Linked DNA regions of Homo sapiens: region 2 is linked to region 1. Evidence: promoter capture Hi-C in human tissues and cell types (Jung and others, 2019). All regions are on one chromosome and are shown on one strand. Each heading gives the region's core, a stretch centred on a gene start or on the middle of the fragment in contact. The rest is flanking DNA. Distances are from core to core; before and after follow the strand shown.

Region 1 (3,721 bases), core at 333-2,832:
AAATGACAATCAAATCAAATCATCCCAACAGGAGAAACACCTTCTTTCTGTTTGGAGGAGTGCCAAAACGTTGTAAGACATCATGAGTCCCTCAAAAAGCTCTGGCTGGTGTGGACAGAAATATTTACACATTTCCCTGGATTAGAAAGCAGAGCAACATGACTGCTATACGGGCTCTGACAAGTGACTTGAGAACTGTTCTGGAGACGTTTAGGAGGCTTTATTTAAACAACAGATTCTGCAGCTAAAAATAAGCATATACTGTATTTGATACAATATATAATAATACATATATTATTTATAAATTTATTATTCTGAAATACATAGTACATATGTATATATAATTATATATCATTTATGTATACATATACATATATATTTTATCTTATCCCATTATCTTATGGGAATGTATACGAAGGAATACTTACTCTGCCTAGGAGAACCAGAGAATGCTTTTAGGAGGAGGAGGCACTAGAGTGGGCCTTGAAGGATGAGCAGGGAGGGGTGAGGGGAGGGTCTGCTGAACAAGCAGAACTCCATGAACAAGAGTGTGGAAGTCTGAAGATGCATGGCATAGCTAATAGTCCATAAGGAATGGAGTAGGCCATACCTGAGGCAGGATGGGGCAGGCAGGCAAGCTGAGTAATAGGTCAGATGAAAACTATACCGAAGGTCCTGTGTGTCATTTAAAAATAAATTTGATTATCCAGGTCAGCAATTCTCACCCTCCTAACATGGTCAAGGAAACTGGTTCCTGCAACCTGGAGGCTTGCTGGGGGTTAAAGAGGGAAGTGGTGAGTAAGGGAGGAGTATTACTTGGTGACTCCATGAACTGGGTTTTAGATTTAGTTTTTGCAACATCATTCTATACTATTATCCCCAGGCCTTCAGTAAAGCAATGTTCAGAGTAACTGCTTGATCTTAGCCAATTCTTAAGATATTTAAAAAAAAAAAAAAGGCTCCGTCCCAGGCTTGTACTGAACAGTGCCAAGGCTTGGAGAGCTGGTGCAGCTGGGGGAAGCTGGTCAGGACTGCTGGGGAGACTGCAAAAGACTCTAGAGGTAGTCTGGAACAAATGACGTGGTGAGAAACTAGAAGGGAAAATTTATGGAATAGGGAGCCTTCTCCAGGGTTTTCCAGAAATATTTACGGAGGGAAACCTAGTAAAAGAAGAAACTTCCAGCAGTTAAACAAAATGGAGGTTTGGAGTCGTCTTATCATGTCGACCCTAAAGAGTACTATGACCACAATAGGATGGAGGCCCTGGTGACATTTACTCCTTCAACAAGCTCTCAGAGGAATAAATCATGCTAAGCTGAGCCTGAGCCTCTCTTCTCAGAAGAGCTATTGCCTGGGAAACCCACACTCACCAGCCAAATGCTCTCTGTTGGTATTGCTTCCACCCTTGAGCCAGGCAGTCTAGCTGAAGGTTGCCATCCAACTTCAGCGTCCATGTGGCCCGGGGTTTTGCCTCTTGGATTAGTTCTTGAAATGTCTGCTCCCAAGTCCAGAAATCTACAACCATTTTTTCCCTCTGAAGCTGAGAGAGTAGCTTTCAGGTTTGCTCGTTTCTCAGGAAGAGACAAACAGTTTCAGTTTCGGTGTTCGGTTCAGTTTCTGTTTCTGTGTATGGACATGAGCTGTTTTTTTCAACCTTCATTTTAGACTGTCTGAGTACACAGAACAAGTCTTTGTTCTGAAAACAGACAGCAGCAAAACTGTGTTAGTTAATAGGCCTTGCTGAGAGAGAGATAAAGAGCTCTGTTCTAGATTCTGGGGTCACATATAAATTCGCTTTTATTTTCTCTCTCTCATTTTTTATAATAGGCAAAGTGAGAGGTGACAGCATGCTGGTAGCCCTCGCAGCCCTCGCTCGCTCTCGGAGCCTCCTCGGCCTCGGTGCCCACTCTGGCCGCGCTGGAGGAGCCCTTCAGCCAGCCACTGCACTGTGGGAGCCCCTTCCTGGGTAGGCCAAAGCCAGAACCGGCTCCCTCAGCCTGCTGGGAGATGTGGAGGGAGAGGCACGGGCAGGAACCGGGGCTGCATGCAGGGCTTGCAGGCCAGCTAGAGTTCTGGGTGGGCGTGGGCTTGGCGGGCCCTGCACTCGGAGCGGCCGGCAGGCCCCCAGCCCTGGGCAGTGAAGTGCTTAGCACCTGGGCCAGCAGCTGCGGAGGGTGCGCCAGGTCCCCCAGCAGTGCCGGCCCACCGGCACTGAGCTCGATTTCTCGCTGGGCCTTAGCTGCCTCTCTGTGGGGCAGGGCTCGGGACCTGCAGCCCGCCATGCCTGAGTCTCCCCACCCTGGGCTCCTGCATGGCCCAAGCCTCCCCGACGAGTGCCACCCCCTGCTCCATGGTGCCTGGTCCCATCGACCGCCCAAGGGCAGAGAAGTGCGGGCACACACGCAGGACTGGCAGGCAGCTCCACCTGCTGCCCCCGGGGCGGGATCCACTGGGTGAAGCCAGCTGGGCTCCTGAGTCTAGTGGGGACTTGGAGAACCTTTATGTCTAGCTAAGGGATTGTGAATACACCAATGGGCACTCTGTATCTAGCTCAAGGTTTGTAAATGCACCAATCAGCACCCTGTGTCTAGCTCAGGGTTTGTGGATGCACCAATCAGCACCCTGTCAAAACGGACCAATCAGCTCTCTGTAAAACAGACCAATTGGCTCTCTGTAAAATGGACCAATCTGCAGGATGTGGGTGGGGCCAGATAAGAGAATAAAAGCAGGCTGCCCCAGCCAGCACTGACAACCGGCTCGGGTCCCCTTCCACGTGGTGGAAGATTTGTTCTTTTGGTTTTTGCAATGAATCTTGCTGCTGCGCAGTGTTTGGGTCTGCTCTGCCTTTATCAGCTGTTAACACTCACCCGGAAGGTCTGCAGCTTCACTCTTGAGCCAGCAAGACAATAAACCCACCAGAAGGAAGAAACTCAGAACACATCCGAACATCAGAAGGAACAAACTCTGGGCACTGTGCCTTTATGAGCTGTAACACTCACCATGAGGGTCGGTGGCTTCATTTTTGAAGTCAGTGAGACCAAGAACCCACCAATTCCGGACACAAAAGCACTGTTTTTGGCACTGGGAAAAGAGTATCCTGTAGCTAAGAAACAATTCCTGCCCCCACAGATGCTCACACCCAGGTGGAGACAGGGAGGTTAGGAGCAGCGTAGGGGAGCACGTGTTTAATGCTCATCTCCTACACCCCATGTATCCTCACCAGTCCCGCGAAGGATTATTCTTGGAGTTTTGCAGGTTAACTGCACAGAAAGCTGGGGTACTTTGTCCAAATCCCCTCAGTTAACGAGCAGTGGAAGTGAGACTTGAACCCGGGTCTGTGTGACTCCAAAACCTGCCATGTGTCCGCCCACCTCACTCCCTGAAGAGAAGCTGAGAATGGCATTTCAGGTTCCAGGCTGGCACACTGGAGCCAGTGTCAGAGGAACCGTAGGGAGATTTCCTGGGTCCTGAGGCAGGAGGTCAGCTGCATGAAGGGATTATCAAACTCTGCCCTCCACTCTGTAAATTATGTGGAAGGGCAAATACGCACAGGTGTGGGGGCCGTCTTTCAGTGGTAGGATACAGAGAATTCCCATTTTGGGGTAAGGGATTGAGATGAGATGACCTTTAAAGACACTTGTAAGTCTAAAACGCGGAGATTCCAGAGAGTAAGCTTTGTCCTCCTGGGGCTTAAATTCAAATAGGGGAGATAGGACAAGCA
Region 2 (3,848 bases), core at 1,127-3,626, 160 kb after region 1:
AGGGAAGGAGACAAACAGTGCCTTTGCAACAATTTCCTGTGTTGGCATTTTTTTTTTCAAGAAGAAAAGAAAAATGTCATTTGAATGCAGAAACACAAGCTCAATTCCTAGCAATGAGCTTCTGATAATAAGGAAAAAGAACCAGGACCATTTCAACACCTAGGCAGATCACAAAGCCACCAAGGGAGTCTTCTCTGAGGAATGGGGTATTAGGATAAAGCAGTGTGATGACAATGGGAAGGTGTGTGGGGCCTGGACGGTACCCAGGGTGAGTGTCTGAATGACAAACAGATCAGCATGGGCAAAAACATGTCTTCCCTGCCAGCATCTTTCAGTCCCAAAGGAGACCTCTACAAAGTCAGAGGTTATGATACCCCAATGGATACCAACAGGCCAGCACCAACCAGAGCAAGCCTGGGGATCCGAAGGTCACAGTGTAGATGTAGACCAGGCCTGTGGTCTCAGAAGATGCTGACCTAGTTTGAAAGTGAGGACTCTCTTCTCCCCTTGGGCTATTTGTCCTGTGACGTTATCCCATCTTGCCCATCGCCTGGGACCATCTGGTTTATTTAATCCCTGCCAGTTAAATGCTCATGTGTGGCCCAGGCCTGCCAGTGGGATCCAAGACAACAGAATCCTTCTTTTAACAACTCTGACAACATCTCCCTTTGGTCTGAGTTTGCATGTCTGACGCCCAAATCCATGATAGCAGTCTGGGCCTCCCACCAAGTCTTTTCATTTGAGTGCATTTTAAAGTTATGAAGTACTTCAAGTGCACTGAAAAAAAAATAGAGACAAAAATCCACCTCCTGCTCAGATTCGATGAAACAATGTGTCCCATGCAAGGGACATCAGCAAGATTCCAATACGAGAAGTAGCTGGTGCCATGAGAGAGAAGGAGCCTTGGGCCAGTAGACAGAGCTCTGAACCTGGTTGTGAAGGCCTGGATTCCAGTCCTCACTCTGCTCCCAAAGCTCTGAAAGCCCCAGGGAATCCTGCTCTCTGTGCCTCAGTCCCCACAGTCTCCCTGTTAGTTTCTCCTTATTTTTCCAACCTCTCTACATGGGGATTCCCTGGGCTCAGCTCTTTGGCCTCTTTTCTTTCCTCTCTACCCTCACTCCCTAAATAATCTCATCTAGGCTTATGACATTTAAAACCACCTAAATGCTGATGGCTCTCCAATTTCATCTCTAGCTTGGGCACCTCCTCTAAACCACAGGCGTGATATTTCAACTGCCACCTTCGCATTTCTCATGTTTAATGTCTAACAGAATGCCCATGTCCAAAACTGAGGTCCTCATATTGCCCCAAAATTTGTTCCTCACGGCCTTCCTCATCTCAGAAAGTAGACACTCCATTCTTCCAGTTGCACAGGCCAAAAATCTTGGGGCGTCTTTGACTCCTCTCTCTCTCATACTGCACATCTGAGTCACCAGCAAATCCTCTCAGCTCCACCTTTAAAGTACATCCAGACTCAACCACAGCTGCTACCACCCTGGAACGGGTCACTACAGCCTCTTGCAAGGAGTACTGCAGGAGCCTCCTGGCTAATATTTCCTCTTTCATTCTTGTATCTCTATGGTCTGTTATCAACTGGGTGACAGTAAATTGGGTAACATCACCCTGCCACTCAACTTCTCCAGTGGCTTCCTATCTAATTCAGATTAAAAACCAGTGTTCTGACAGTGACCTGATCCCCGTTACCACTCTGGTCCTACTGCACACATTAGCCTCCTCATGTATGAACATTTCAGGATGCTCCTGCCTCAGGGCCTTGGCACCTGCCATTCCTCTTATTTGTTTCCTTCATCTTTTTTTTCCCCCAGTGTCATCCTCTTAGTAAGGCCTTCCCTCACTACCCAATTTAGATTGTAACTTCATTCCCTACCTTTCCTATCTCCCTTGCCTACTTTGTTCTTCTTCTTAGTATGTAACCCTATCTAATATACCACACATCTCAACTTACATTGTGTATTGTCTAGCTCCTCTATCCACAATAACAGCAATTTAGTAGCTCTTCTCTGCCATATCCCCAAGTGCCTAGAAAAATATCTGACACATAATATGCACTCAATAAACATCCATTAAATGAATGAATCTTGAAAATAGGGAATATTTTACGACATTCTGTAAATATCATTATGACCCTATTAAGATGGTGATGTAGGATTATTGAGCTTGTTTTAAAAGAAGTGAAAGGATAAGAAAAAGACGGAAATTTCATCACTATCACCCAAGTTCTTGTATAAAACAACACCTCTCAAGGTAACTGCCTTTAAAAACTTGAATTCCTTTAGAGAAAAGTCAGAGAGTAAGACATATGTTTGTTTCCAGATAAGAAAGGGAAAGAAAGATGTTATGAAGGTTTCAGATAAGAGGGTCAAACACCAAATCAACCTAGGCAGACTGAAATCCTGGGGTAACAATCAGATGACCTGTTGGAAGGGTCAGGGTTAGGACACCATTCCAAATTCCCCTCCTTCCCCAAAATAGGGCTAAGTAGCAGTTTGTGATTAAGGTCAAAGCTGGCAGAGACCCTTCGGGCACTTTATCTGATTGCTTTACAAATAAGGAAACTGATATCTAGGGGAGAGGAAAGACTACGTCGCCCAAGGCCAGCAGCCTAGATAATGGTTAAACCAGGTCTGAAACCAAGGTTTTCTGACTCCAAGGCCAATGAGCTCTTCTATACCACAACCACTAATGCAACCACCTCTACAGGACTCTGTAACAGCATAGTCATATAACAGGCGGATTTCATTTCCCTGGTGCATGTGGCAGTACCCAAGCAATGCCAAAAATGACTCCAAAGGAAATTCCTTAGCTAGGAGTCCCACAGAGAACCAGAATGGGACTTGGAAAAGAACTAAATTCCTCTGGAGTATTCCAGCCAATGGGAAGGGAGCCCAGAAAATTACTGGTGTTTTCTGTTTAAAGAGATGTTTTTAAACAGCTATCTTTGAAGAATGAAGAGTGACCATCGTGCTTCTGGAAAAATGAAATCATTGCTTTGAAATAAATATGAGGGAAGAAAATAAATAACTCTACAGTTAATAAATAAACCATTTCAAAGCTGCAAAATTAACCCTTGCCTTTTTTTTTTTTTTTTTAAGTATTTACCAACCAAGCTTAACTGAAATCATAGAGAAGGAAGAGCCTTTCAGGACTCAAAGAGGAAGCTGCAAATTAGAAGGGAAAGAGGATGAAAGAAGAGCATGAGCATTCAGTGAGCATGTGCCCTATAGCAGGCATTATCGTAGACAGAGTATTCTTTATTCCTGGCAATAGCCCTCCAAGGCAGATAGGATTATTTCCATTTTGATGAGGAGGAAAATGAGGCTTGCTTGAGGTTACAGAGCTGGTAAGTAGCAGAACCAGCACTCAAGTGTTTTCTGACCCCAAATTTCATGATCTTCTCTTACCCCATGATATACAATGCTAGTCAAGTTTCCTAATTTCTCTGGGCTTCAATTTCTCATCTGCAAAATAAGGGCCCTAGCTCAAAGCATCTCTAATTTGTCTTATAGCTCTGATAGTCTATGGACTTACTATGTCGGACATATTCCTTCCTTGGCAGTCCTCTCAGTTCTCAGGGCTCCTGAACCCCAGAAGGAATCCTCCCATTGAGCTGGTCCTCTGTCAAGATGGGCATGAGGAAAGCAATAGAGATAACAATTTTTCTCAACCCTACACCAAGAATTTCAGCCTCTGGAACTATAATTCAGTGCTTGTAGTTCTCTTCCTGGCTTGAACATCAAGACAAGCAAACAAAAGCTCCAGTGGGAGAGGCCCAGGATCCAGGAATTTCCCTGAGGAGTTTATTTATAACACATAAGATACATCTAACA

The links. Contacts are between HindIII fragments. The study calls those that stand out against the background at their distance.
Region 2: a fragment that was not itself captured here is called in contact with the fragment with the promoter of RTP4 in region 1 in 1 of the 25 tissues and cell types used here (aorta).

Annotation. Positions count from the first base shown.
Region 1 is chr3:187,366,246-187,369,966 of GRCh38, reverse strand. It overlaps RTP4 (receptor transporter protein 4), which reads right to left and starts at 1,582. Exons shown (of 2, transcript NM_022147.3): 1 at 1,371-1,582. The coding sequence starts at 1,525. RefSeq lists an enhancer at 1,372-1,721. The HindIII fragment of the contact is 7,845 bases long and covers 1-3,721 here.
Region 2 is chr3:187,209,685-187,213,532 of GRCh38, reverse strand. No RefSeq gene overlaps it. Among named protein-coding and RNA genes, the nearest start is that of RTP1, 14 kb to the right of the region's middle. The HindIII fragment of the contact is 6,887 bases long and covers 1-3,848 here.